Regions from separate parts of the Homo sapiens genome. Here region 2 is linked to region 1. Evidence: promoter capture Hi-C in human tissues and cell types (Jung and others, 2019). All regions are on one chromosome and are shown on one strand. Each heading gives the region's core, a stretch centred on a gene start or on the middle of the fragment in contact. The rest is flanking DNA. Distances are from core to core; before and after follow the strand shown. Region 1 holds the start of PCNA (proliferating cell nuclear antigen). Region 2 overlaps SLC23A2 (solute carrier family 23 member 2).

Region 1 (6,292 bases), core at 3,793-6,292:
CACGTAGGTATGAAAGGTCATATCTAAGTGAGTGTCATGTCAGTCCTTCTAGAAACTCAGCTGCTCCTTTTCAAATCCAGCCTAATAAAAGGAGGCTTGGAGAATCAATGCACATAAGTCAGAATTATAGAATGCACAGCATGATTACTAGGATGGATAACATGTGGTCTGAACAAACTTCTCATCCATTACACTCAGCCCTCTCAGGTTAATGGAACTCAGATCAAGTATATTCCTGAAGTCAGTACTGTGTGACGAACAGGGGTCTGGTGGAAGTGATGCTAATAGGGCTTTAGGCCAGCTTTAGAGCCCTTCTCTCTCTCTCTTTTCGTTTTTTGTTTTCTTTTTGTTTGTTTTTTGTTTTTTTTTTTTAGACAGTTTCCCTCTTGTTGCTCAGGCTGGAGTGCAATGGTGTGATCTCGGCTCACTGCAACCTCCGCCTCCCAGGTTCAAGCAATTCTCCTGTCTCAGCCTCCCGAGTAGCTGGGACTACAGGCGCCCGCCACCACAGCTGGCTAATTTTTGTATTTTTAGTAGAGACAGGGGTTTTAGGTCAGGCTGGTTTTGAATTCTTGACCTCAGGTGATCCGCCCACCTGGGCCTCCCAAAGTGCTGGGATTACAGGCATCAGCCACTGCACCTGGCTCAAGAAACATTCTTAAGCATGCTTGATCTTGGTAAATGCCCCTGATTTCTTCTGTAGGAAAAAACCCTAGAGATCGAATTTCTGTGTCAAAGAATAAGTAAAATTCTAAGGCTTTTGATACACATTTCTAAGTTTCCACCAGAAAAATTATACCAATGTATACTCCCACTTGCAATGTATTTAAGTGCCTACTTCCTTGAATCCTTCCTAACACACCAGGTGTTAACATGATTTTTATTAATTTGGTAGGTTAAAATTCTGTCTCCATTGAATTTACATTTCTTTGCTTATTAATGTGGCTAACAAACTTCACGTTTATGAAGACTAGGACTGGACAGTGGAGGCCAGATACCTCTGGCTTTTTGTTTAGATGAATAAATTTTCTATTTCTCTTAATCCATTCAAGTTGAGTTCTCTGTCACTGAAACCTAAACTATACTAACCAATATAATCCTTTGAGGCATACTGAAGTCTTAAAACTTGTATGGTTATTCATTATGTTTTATGGGTTTTTTTCTTATGTTTGGAAGCCCATAGGAAGATCTCATAAATATTTACCAAAATATTTTTCCATTTCTTATTGGGTCAAGATTTGAATTTGAATTCTTTATCTAGAATTTAGTGAATAATTATTAGGAAAAGTCTTTTTTTTTTTTTTTGAGATGGAGGTTTGCTCTGTCACCCAGGCTGGAGTACAGTGGCGCAATCTTGGTTCACTGCAACCTCTGCCTCCCGGGTTCAAGCAATTCTCCTGCGTCAGCCTCCCTAGTATCTGGAATTACAGGTGTGCACCACCACGCCCAGCTAATTTTTGTATTTTTAGTAGAGACGGGGTTTCACCATGTTGGCCTGGCTGGTCTCGAACTCCTGACCTCAGATGATCCACCTACCTCAGCCTCCCAAAGTTCTGGGATTACAGGCATGAGCCACTGCGCCCATCCAGAAAAGTCTACAGCTTTTATTCTTTTCTAATAGTTTAACCAATTATCTGATCAAAATTTACTTCATTCTTTCTCCCACTGATCCAATAGTACCTTTACTAGATGTTAGAGTAGCCACTTAAAATGTAAATTGGATCACATCAAAGATCTGCTGTTGACCACATTCCCTTGCACTTTTAGAGAGCCTACAAAGTCCTGCAAGAGCTCACCCCAGCCTCTCTGCAACCTCACCTTGCACCACTCTTGCTTCAGACACATCAGTCTGAGTTCTACATCAAACTTGTCTGAATATATTCCAAGTATGCTGACCTTTATAATCATGCTATTCTCTCAGCCTAGAATGCTTTTTTCCAACTCTCCAAGCAGCTGTCTTCTCTGATAAGATGCTACCTCCTCAGAGAGGCCTTCTCTGACCACAGTCATAGGCATGTTTATGTCCTCATTTCAGTTTAACATAAAATTTACGTAACTGTACACCTCTTTATCATTTGACACTTTTAGGAGGACATCACTTCTGTAATAGAGCAGAAATAAACAGATTGATGTACATGGTGGATCCCCCATGGATAGAGTTTGTCATTTAAAATGTCTTCAAATCTATTACATGTAATTTGGCATTAAACCAAAATGTTATTATGTAAGCAGACAGAACTGAAACAGAGTAGTGGAGCATATGCATTTGTTTTTAGTGAAGCAAATGTTCCTCACTGGAGGAAGGAACACATTCCACATTTTGCAAAGGAACTGAGATTTTAACGGACCCAAGAAAGGAAAAGAACCACAAACAGATGATGCTGTATTATGTTTTGATATTGAGATGTATGCAAATGGGTAGTCCATCACACATAAAGCAAGAAAGTGCCAACATCAAAACTTACAAATGAGTAGCAGAGGCTTGCAAGAAATTCCAGAGACAATAGAATAGCACTATTGAAAAATACTGCATCATCAATACCCTTGACAACACAGAGTAGGATATTATACAGAAAAACAGCAGAATCAGCAACTAACTGAGTGGAGAAACAGTAGGAATGCCTTAACCAATGTAGCTTAAATTTTTTCATGTTTGCACAAGAGTAATATATAATAAGAATGTTTTTAAAGTCTAAAAGTTCTTTTAAAACAAAATAGACCCGGGCGCGGTGGCTCATGCCTGTAATCCCAGCACTTTGGGAGGCCAAGGCAGGCAGATCACATGAGGTCAGGAGTTCAAGACCAACCTGGCCAACATGGCAAAACCCCGTCTCTACTAAAAATACAAAAATTAGCCAGGTGTGATGGCGCATGCCTGTAATCCTAGCTATTCAGGAGGCTGAGGCATGAGAATTGCTTGAACCCAGGAGGCGGAGATTGCGGTTAGCCAAGATCACACCACTGCACTCCAGCCTGGGTGATAGAGTGAGACTCTGTCTCAGAAAAAAAAAAAAGAAAAAGAAAAAGAAAAAAAAAAAGAAATTCTAAGTGATAAAGCATTGTGTAACAGTTTGAGGCTGGGCACAGTGGCTCATGCCTGTAATCTCACACTTTGGGAGACCGATTGGGAAGATTGCTTGAGCCCAGGAGTTGGAGACCAGCCAGAGCGACATAGTGGGACCTTCTCTCTACAAAAACATTTAAAAATTAGCCAGGTACAGTGGTGCACCCCTGTAGTCCCAGCTATTTGGGAGGTGGCAAGAGGATCTCTCGAGCCTAGAAGTTGGAGGTGGCAGTGAGTAGTCATCTTGCCACTGCACTCCAGCCTGGGTGTCAAAGGGAGACTCCCCTCTCTAGAAAATAATAAAAAAAAAAGTTTGACAGTTTTCTTGCTTGTGCTACATAAAATAATGGTACATATTACAATTGAAGGCATCTTATAATAGAAATGCCCTTTCCTGTTCCCTTTTAAGGCTGACCCAGTGCTTTAAGAGGCTGATACAGAAGGGTAAAGTTAAGTCTCCACAAAATCCAGGGAAGAGACTGTGAAACTCATCTTAGAACCTTGTATGGAGTCACAGCTGAACTAGGAAAAAAAAAAAAAAAAAAAAAAGGAAAGAAAGGCATTCCAGAGATAAAGAATAGACTAAGGAGAGGAGATATTTGAAGCCATAATGATTGAGAATATGTCAGACTTGAAATGAATCTTCAGTTCCCTCAACAAGACAAATAAAACTAACTCCATACCTAGATACATGGTAGAAAAACTAAAGAATTCTGCTGACCAAGGTATTAAAAGTAACTAAAGAGAAGTGGTGTGAAGAAAGCAAGAGAGAAACAACAAATCCTGTCCATCCTGTAACAATTGAAAATTTCTGGCTGGGCGTGGTGGCTCACGCCTGTAATCCCAGCACTTTGAGAGGCCGAGGCAGGTGGATCACCTCAGGTCAGGTGTTCAAGACCAGCCTGGCCAACATGGTGAAACCCCGTCTCTACTAAAAAAAAATAATAATAATAATACAAAAATTAGCCGGGGGTGGTGGTAGGCACCTGTAATCCCAGATACTCGGGAGGCTGAGGCAGGAGACTCACTTGAACCTGGGAGGCGGAGGTTGCAATGAGCTGAGATCGCGCCACTGTACTCCAGCCTGGATGACAGAGCAGGACTCCATCTCAAAAAGAAAGGAAAAGAAAAGAAAAAATATTAAATGTGTACGCTCTTTGACTCAGCTGTATTACTTCAAGGAGTTGATATCACCAAAATTGCCTAAGTGCTCAAAGGTGTTTGTAGTTAAACAACAGGAGATTGATAAATTATGTTATATACATGTGATGCTATGTTTTAAAGAGGTACTGATATGATAAAAGATGTACGTGGCATAAAATTAAATGTACTTTATTAAGTACTTTTCCAAGTGTTTACGGAATGAGTGCATTTTTGAAAAAAAAAAAGTGTATTCGAACTTTTAAAAAAGCTTTAAAAGCTTTATACAATGAACGATTGAGTGATTATAAGAGCTGGCGGGGGAATGTTAAGAGGATGATAGGGAGCTAAGTTTAACAGAACAATTCACCTCTTTATCTTGTGACACCTACGAGCGCATCAATTCTGTAATTGAAAAATAAAGTGCATATTTGCAGCAGCTGTACTCTCTTCAGGCTGCAAGGAGGCTTTTCCTCCCGGTAGGCTTGATTTGCATTTCACTTTCACTTTCGTGGCTGGAAACTTTCTACCCACGTAGTGGGAGGCTGAGGAGCCACCATAAAGCTGGGGCTTGACGAGCCGGGACCGGGACCCGATCTCCACATATGCCCGGACTTGTTCTGCGGCCGGGTTCAGGAGTCAAAGAGGCGGGGAGACCTGCGCGACGCTGCCCCGCCCTGCGCCCGCTTCCTCCAATGTATGCTCTAGGGGGCGGGCCTCGCGGGGAGCATGGACACGATTGGCCCTAAAGTCTTCCCCGCAAGGCCGTGGGCTGGACAGCGTGGTGACGTCGCAACGCGGCGCAGGGTGAGAGCGCGCGCTTGCGGACGCGGCGGCATTAAACGGTTGCAGGCGTAGCAGAGTGGTCGTTGTCTTTCTAGGTCTCAGCCGGTCGTCGCGACGTTCGCCCGCTCGCTCTGAGGCTCCTGAAGCCGAAACCAGCTAGACTTTCCTCCTTCCCGCCTGCCTGTAGCGGCGTTGTTGCCACTCCGCCACCATGTTCGAGGCGCGCCTGGTCCAGGGCTCCATCCTCAAGAAGGTGTTGGAGGCACTCAAGGACCTCATCAACGAGGCCTGCTGGGATATTAGCTCCAGCGGTGTAAACCTGCAGAGCATGGACTCGTCCCACGTCTCTTTGGTGCAGCTCACCCTGCGGTCTGAGGGCTTCGACACCTACCGCTGCGACCGCAACCTGGCCATGGGCGTGAACCTCACCAGGTGAGCCTCGCGGCCCCGGGAAGCCGGCCCCGGCCCGCCTGCACCTCCGGTGCTTGGCGGGAGCGCTTTCGAGCCTAGCCCTCATTGGCTGGCGTGGGCCATCCGCGCCTTCTCATTGGCCTGCCACGCAGTGGGGTGGGGCCCAGCTGAGCGCGCGGTTCGGAAAAGCCCGCGCTGGCTGCTGCGCGAACCTGCTTTTTCGCGCCAAAGTCACAAAGCGGGTGGTGGCGGGAAAATCAAGGGTTTTTCCGCAGTGCCAGGAACACTGTTCCAGGGCTCTTTGCTCACTAAATCCTGTTGGCCTTGAATGGACGCTTTAGCTGTGGCTTTCTTGTTTCTGAGACGGTCTCGGTGTGTTGCCCGGGCTGGTCTCCAACTTCTGGGCTCAAGCGATCCTCCCGGCTCAGTCGCGGTTGACTTTAAATGCTTTATAATGCCCTTGCGAGAAATGTGGCAGCCTGTCATCCTACTTAGTGGCAGGAGATTGTTTCTATCCAGAAGGGACACTGCTGGTGGTATTTTAGTATAAATACTGCCAGATGCGTCCCAAAACGTCTGCATTAATAATGGCATCCTCCAGCAGTCCGCTTACCCTCCACCAGTTCTGAGACGGCCTGATGGGTGAGAGTGGTAACCCCTTCTAACCGCGTTCGAAATACAGCCCTTCAGCAGACGGCGTTGATTTTAAAGCATGTGTCTCCTGTCTTCTAGTATGTCCAAAATACTAAAATGCGCCGGCAATGAAGATATCATTACACTAAGGGCCGAAGATAACGCGGATACCTTGGCGCTAGTATTTGAAGCACCAAGTAAGTCGTACCTTTTTACCGAGTCACGAAGCTACAGAAAATCAAAACTCTGTGTCAGTAT
Region 2 (6,451 bases), core at 735-3,234, 190 kb after region 1:
TTTGAATGATTTGCCCATTGACAGGGAAAAAGTGAGGGGACTAAGTTACAGTGGGTCGCTTCCCATTGCCTGATGGATGGGATTAGTGTGGGGGCAGCTGGTTGGAGGCAGGGGCAGTGGGGTAGCACAGGAAGAATTGGTGGGTCTGGGAGATACCAAAGGCATGGGAATAGTAAGAACAGAGGTGAGGCTGATAGAAGAGGTGATAGGAGGTTTTGAGGGCCAAAGAAGGAGATGTTTCGGATTCTCATCAAGATTTTATACAGAAGAACCTGATTGGGTATATGTTGGCTTTGGAGAAAATATGAAGTCTAGGGAAAACCATAAGTTTGGAGGGTGGGGAAGATGGAAGATGATGGGTTTTATTTGAGAAGTTGTGGATTTGAACTGCGGTGCTCCTAGAGCCTGCAGGCAGTGGGGGTGTGGGACTTGACACACATAGAGATCAGGAGAGCTGTAAAGACTCACTGTGATGGCTCATGTGGGTGGTGACTGACCCGTGTGAGAGGGTGCTGCTGGCAGGCAGAGCTGGCAGAGGAAGATAGGGTTGAGGGTCTCACCGTTGGGTATACCCACACATGAGTGACAGGGAGGATCATGCCAGGACATTGCTGCATGCTAGTGCCTTGTTTCATTCTGGCCTTTGCAAATGTAAATATTGAAGAATAGCCAGCATGGCAGCTCTGGGTTTTATCTTTTTGTCTGGATCTGTACTGTCCAGCATCATGGCTGCTAGTCACATGTGACGTTTACATTTAAATTAAATACTATTCAATAAAACCTGAAATTCACTTCGTTAGTTGCACTCGTCAAGTACTCCATAGCCACACGTGGCTAGTGGCTAGCCCATCTCTGCTTGCTGGTTAGGGCCTTGCGAGGCTGAAATGTTGGCTCTTATTTTCTCATTTGCCTCAGAATCCAAAGCTGGGCTTTAGGCTGTCAGCTGTTAAGGCATCTAGAGAAAGGTGTGCTGGAGTGCAGCGTGGTTGGGCACCAGTAACCAAATCTGGCCGTTGCTGAGAACCAGGCTTGTGGGGTGTCTCCTGGAAAGGGAGGTGGGGTGTGTGGCTGATAAGGATCTTATCTTTAGAGATTCTCTTAGGCATCCTGTGTTGGATGAGTGCTTCCCAGATCTTTAAACAAAATAAAACAAAACACCCACACAAACATTTTACAAAGAAAAAGAACAAATCCATACTTAGAAGTAGAATGTCCACTAGGTCAAAGTAAGAACAAGAGATGTGCCAGGCCCCAGGACTCATGGAAATTAGATCATGTGGTCAGAGTTGATATCAAATAGGGGGAACATAGCAAAAGATCTTCTTCTTATCCCACAGGACTCTAGTTAGGCAAATTCTTATGTTTTAAAGCCAGCTAGGAAATGCGTAAATAGGGGTGAATGCCCATGGCAAGAAACAGGAATCAGGAAAAAAAAAAAAAAAAAAAAAGCAAAAAAAATTCTGATGAACGATCGTACCCTAGGGACATTGATCCCAAAGTACAGACAGGAAGCACGGCCAGAAAAAGGCTGTGTGTTTGCTCAGCAGTTCTTGGACCACCTAAACCTGGAAGCCCAGTTAACAGCCCAAACTTCCTGTTGGCACAGGCACGGCTGTGACACACACAGCCTGTTGTTTCAGTGCGTCATCATTCAGAGTCAGGGAAAGCGTTTAAGCTTCCTTAAGCTTTTATTTCTTTTAACAGCCTTTGTGAGAATATTTGGGTATCAAGAGTAGATTATTCTGTCTGGAGATATTAGCGGCATGGACCGACGAGTAACTTTATGAGGTTTAGTCTTACCAGAGAGTGGGAGAAATACTCCTGGGTGTTCATAAGAACCGACCACTTCTCATCTTACCTTGGTGTGTGTTCTTCAGAACATGTAATGGGAAGAGCCCACAGCCTCACGTTCCTCCATTGATTAAATGTGTCTGGTGCACATACCTGGTAACCAGCTGCTTACAGCCCAGTGGGGGACATATGGCAAGACAGCCAGCATACCATCAGTGTTAGGGTTTGAATTCTGCACGGGTGCTGTGATAGTGTCCACGTGAGACCCTTGCCCAGTCGTGTTGTAGGGTGGGCCTTGCCGGTCAGATGAAGGTTCCCAGGGGAGATAACATGGAACTCCTAAAAAATGTCTAGGTATAGTAGGTCAAGAGGAGGGAGACTGAAGGCCTCTCAGCTGAGGGTGTGCATGGCAGTGTCCTGCTTGGGGCGCAAGTTTAGTGCAGAGTACAGTGGAGGTGGAGATGAGCAGCAGGGATGCTGAGGAGAGGTCATAGTAAATTTGCTCGTTTTGGGGTAGGAAATTCCTGCGGTGGGTGCCGGGGCAGGAAGGGTCTGGAGATAGGAAGGCAAGTTAGGGTGCTTACGCAGTCCAGGTGTGAGCCGACAGTGACCTGACCTGGAAAGTGCGGAGGAAAGGAATTCTTCCATTCAGCAGATGGTTATTGGGCACCTGCTTTGCGTGAGGCTCTGTCCTGGAATTGGCCTCCTAGTGATGGTGGGAGGAGAAAAACAGTAAAGAAACAAGCAAATACGTCAATCTTGTGGCAGCTGGTCACTAATTCTGTGAAGAAAAATAAATCAGGGAGGGGAATAGTGAGAAATAGAATGTGAGGTCAGACAGTGATCATACAGGACCTGCAAGCCATTCATTAATTTGTCCTTTTAAAAATAGGAACTGTGTGCCACTCACAGGTCTGGGCTCTAGAGAACAGCAATGAACAGACAGACAAAAATCCATGAGTTTCCATCCTTTTTTTTTTTTTTTTTGACAGAGTCTTGCTCTATCATTCAGGCTGAAGTGCAGTGTCATCATCATGGCTCACTGCAGCCTCAACCTCCTGGGTTTAAGCCATCCTCCCACCTCAGCCTCCTGAGTAGCTGAAATATGGCACATGCCACTGTGCTCAGCTGATTTTTAATTTTTTTTTTTTGTAGAGACAAGGTCTTAACTATGTCACTGATCTCAAACTCCTGAGCTCAAGCAATCCTTCTGCCTCAGCCTCCCAAAGTGCTGGGATTACAGGTGGGAGCCACTTTGCCTGGCCACAGGGCTTTCATTCTGGTGTGGGAGACAGGCAATCCACAATAGAAATAAGTCAAATGTGTAGATGTTAGATATTGACAAACACTAGGGAAAAAAATAAGGTAGAGGTATGGATGCTGAAAATTCAGGCGGCCAGGAAAGGCTGCACCAAGAAGGCGGCCTTTGAGTAAAGTCCTGGAGGAGTTGTGGGAAGCCTGCATGTGGGCCTCAAGGGCAAAGGCCCCACAGCAGGGGGGTGCCTGGTGTTGCTCCACCAGGATGGGCATTGACCAGAGATTCCATAGGTCTTGTGGGCCTCACCAGGGTGTTGGCCTGAAAAAAACCTTTGGAGGCCTTTGAGCAGAGATGTGACATGCTCTGCCTAGTGGGGAGTAGGCTGAAAGGAAAAGCAGGAGGCCAGGCAGGAGCTGGTGGCCCTAGGACAGGTGTGCTGACAGCAGCTGCATCCTGGGTGCTTGCCATGTGGAGGTGGGAGAAGCCACCAGGCTCTGGAGCAGACCTAGTTTCTGTGCTTTTGGGCTGGATGAGGGTGGGGGCAAGTCCCTTCAGAAAGAGACACCCATTCCAGGCGTTGAAAAGTATGTCAGGAGAAACTCTGACTCCAGAGGGAGGACGGGGAGGAGCCACAGTGGAGGAAGGGTTGGCTGGAGGTGTGGCCGAGAGCTTTGAAAAGAAGGGGCAAGTTGCTGTCCTGGAAGAGACTCCTGGAAGGAGCTTCAGGAGGAGACCTGGGGCCTGTGGGGCTGTGTCCTGATGGGTGTGCCTAGCAGGCAGGAGGTGAGCAGGACAGAGTGGCGATGCGGCTCAGAGCTGTGCTGTGCAAGGATGCAGGGATGTGAGGATGCCCCAGAGCGGAGGGGAGGAGGGCAGCCACCAGGATCAGGGACCCATGCTCCTTTCTTTCCTTTTCTGTTTCCTTCCCATCCCTTCTTTAAGACAAGTGGCCTTGGCAGAAAGATGTAGGGAGGTACAGTGAAGAAACCATTTAATGGCTGCTTCAGTTCCTCTAAACCCCTGACTATGTGATGACAGATTTGAACATGCCCCTTTTCAGCAGTGAAAAGAAGGCAAAAAGGCTTTTTGGTGCAACTACCTTCATTCTAAAAACCAAGCAAAGAAGCCCAGAACATGTCCTTGTTCTTGTGACTTTCGTACCAGGTGCTGTGAAGTTCCTTTTTGTACATCCCTAAATAGAGAGTTTGGAGTACTTAGATCTTAAAACGAAAAGTCTCAGTTGGATGGTAATAATAGTTGTCTGGGAAAATGTTCTTTCTGTAAGAATAATAGATTTTGGAATTGACTATGATTCCAAGAAGGGCCTGAGGATGAAGAGAGACTGTTTCCTGGAGTCGGCCCAGGGAATTGGTTTAATTCTCCTATTTCTGTAAGATGAGAGTTTTAATATACTGCATAATGGCCATGATTTAGGCAGGGGATGCCCTTAACAGCTTGAAGTGGAACAACCAAGATGAGCACCCTTTTCTGTTTTAAAATTTGTAAGTTGGGGGGAAAAAGTGTTAGAAAAGGAATATGCCAATATATGCTTTGAAATGAAAACATCAAAACGATGGGATGCAAGTGAAGATTTTTGTGCATGGTAAGATGTTCTTTTCCTTATCCATCCTCCCTCCCTCCCTCCCTCCCTCCCTGCCTCCCTCCCTTCAAGATGGGGTCTCGCTACATTGCCCAGGCTGGTCTCGAACTCCTGGGCTCAAGCAGTCTTCCCACCTTGGCCTCCCAAAGTGCTGGGATTACAGGCATAAGCCACCACACCCAGTCCTAGATTTTTAACTTAAAAATTAATTTTTTTTCCTCTGGTTTTGAGGTTTCAGATAAGTTTATCATATTGCAATATACTTTTAATTTGAACAGAGTTTTGGTAGTTTTAAATGAAATGAGAGATGTTAGTAATACAAAGTACACATCTAATAGTTGGGAGACACACAATTTGTTACGAATGAAAATAGTAAGAGGTTCTTGCTACAGTCTCTTACTATAGCAGGCTTACGAAGTTGATCAGCATTCTGGCCATCTCTTACTTGTGTGTGTGTGTGTGTGTGCTTTTTTTTTTTTAAAGACACGGTCTTGCTGTCACCCAGGCTGGAGTGCAGTGGCGTGATCTTGGCTCACTGCAGCCTCTGCCTCCCGGGTTCAAGCAGTTCTTGTGCCTCAGCCTCCCAAGTAGCTAGCTGGGACTACAGGCATGCACGACCATGCCCAGCTAATTTTCGTATTTTTTGGTAGAGACTGGATTTTACCATGTTGGCCAGGATGGTCTCAAACTTCTGACCTCAAGTGATCCTCCTGCCTCGGCCTCCCAAAGTGCTGGGATAAAGGCGTGAGCCACTGTGCCCGGCCTCTCACCTCTTAATTTCTGTGAGGTCAGGTTTATGGAATCTTGGTCATGGAAAAGGCCTTAGAGGACCTCTTGTTTGTTCTGCTCTTGCTAAATGCTGTGACAGGAATGCATCAGAAGTAGTTGACAAGCTTCCTTCCTTTCCTACCCCATGTGATCCCCCTGCCTTCATCCTGCTGTCTCCGCTTTCTGTGGGTCAGCATCAGTTCTTCCTGGGATCATCGTGACAACCTCTGTGTGATCTCCCTGCCCCACAGCCTTGGTCTCTTCTGACCCCTGATTGCTATTCCTGCCTGTGCCTTTTGCACTTCCAGGACTACTTCAGATTTCCTTTCTTCTAGGTGAATCCCCACTTCTAAATTCCTAATCCCCACCCCCACTAACTTTTATTTGCCTAAGCTAGGTAGGCAGGCTTCTTAGTTTTAATGATTAGAGATAAAATATTTCAGATTGATTTCTTTACCATAATCTAAGCCCATAATTCTATTGGAGAAAAAGTTCATTCTTGCTAGGATTTGATAAAGTACTTGAGGAGGAAGATATGATATTGGAGGTTTCGAGGCAGTAATCACTCAGTTGTCACATTCCCCACCCTCTTAAATTGCCCTTAAAATGGATGTTTTTAAGCATCCATAGTTCTCCCTAGGTTTTACGGTACAAACTACATTGTTGGGGTGAAATGGAAGAAGCAAGAATGCTGATATGTTCTTCTGCCTCTTTTTTGTAGTTCTCATATGTGTATTTTCTGTCCCTTTTTCATTATTTGTGTAACTTTCTTCATTTACAAGAGAAATAAGTTCACTGCAGAAAATGCAGAATGGTAAAATGAGGAAAACAAATAATTTAAAATCTCACTAGCCAGAAAAACACCACTTTCTGTTATTTTGGTAGTAACAGAAAATATTTTACTGATATTTTGGGTGTATTTCTTTTTTTTTTTTTTTTGGTTGTGATTGTTGTTTGAGACAGGGTCTCACTCTGTCACCCAGGCTGGAGTGCAGTGACATGATCATAGCTTCCTGCAGCCTTGACCTCCTGGG

What was found. Contacts are between HindIII fragments. The study calls those that stand out against the background at their distance.
Region 2: a fragment that was not itself captured here is called in contact with the fragment with the promoter of PCNA in region 1 in 1 of the 25 tissues and cell types used here (hippocampus).

What each region holds. Positions count from the first base shown.
Region 1 is chr20:5,118,708-5,124,999 of GRCh38, reverse strand. PCNA (proliferating cell nuclear antigen) reads left to right here and starts at 5,042. Exons shown (of 6, transcript NM_182649.2): 1 at 5,042-5,422; 2 at 6,134-6,231. The coding sequence starts at 5,202. It overlaps PCNA-AS1 (PCNA antisense RNA 1), which reads right to left and starts at 5,414. Exons shown (of 1, transcript NR_028370.1): 1 at 5,031-5,414. It overlaps LOC124900464 (small nucleolar RNA SNORA26), which reads left to right and starts at 3,461; the gene lies at 3,461-3,583. RefSeq lists enhancers at 4,509-4,958, 5,089-5,258, 4,707-5,587, 5,699-5,848, 5,588-6,292 and a silencer at 5,449-5,508. The HindIII fragment of the contact is 20,967 bases long and covers 1-6,292 here.
Region 2 is chr20:4,921,508-4,927,958 of GRCh38, reverse strand. All of the region lies in intron 3 of SLC23A2 (solute carrier family 23 member 2), which reads left to right. Among named protein-coding and RNA genes, the nearest start is that of SLC23A2, 77 kb to the left of the region's middle. RefSeq lists an enhancer at 1,462-1,756. The HindIII fragment of the contact is 3,261 bases long and covers 354-3,614 here.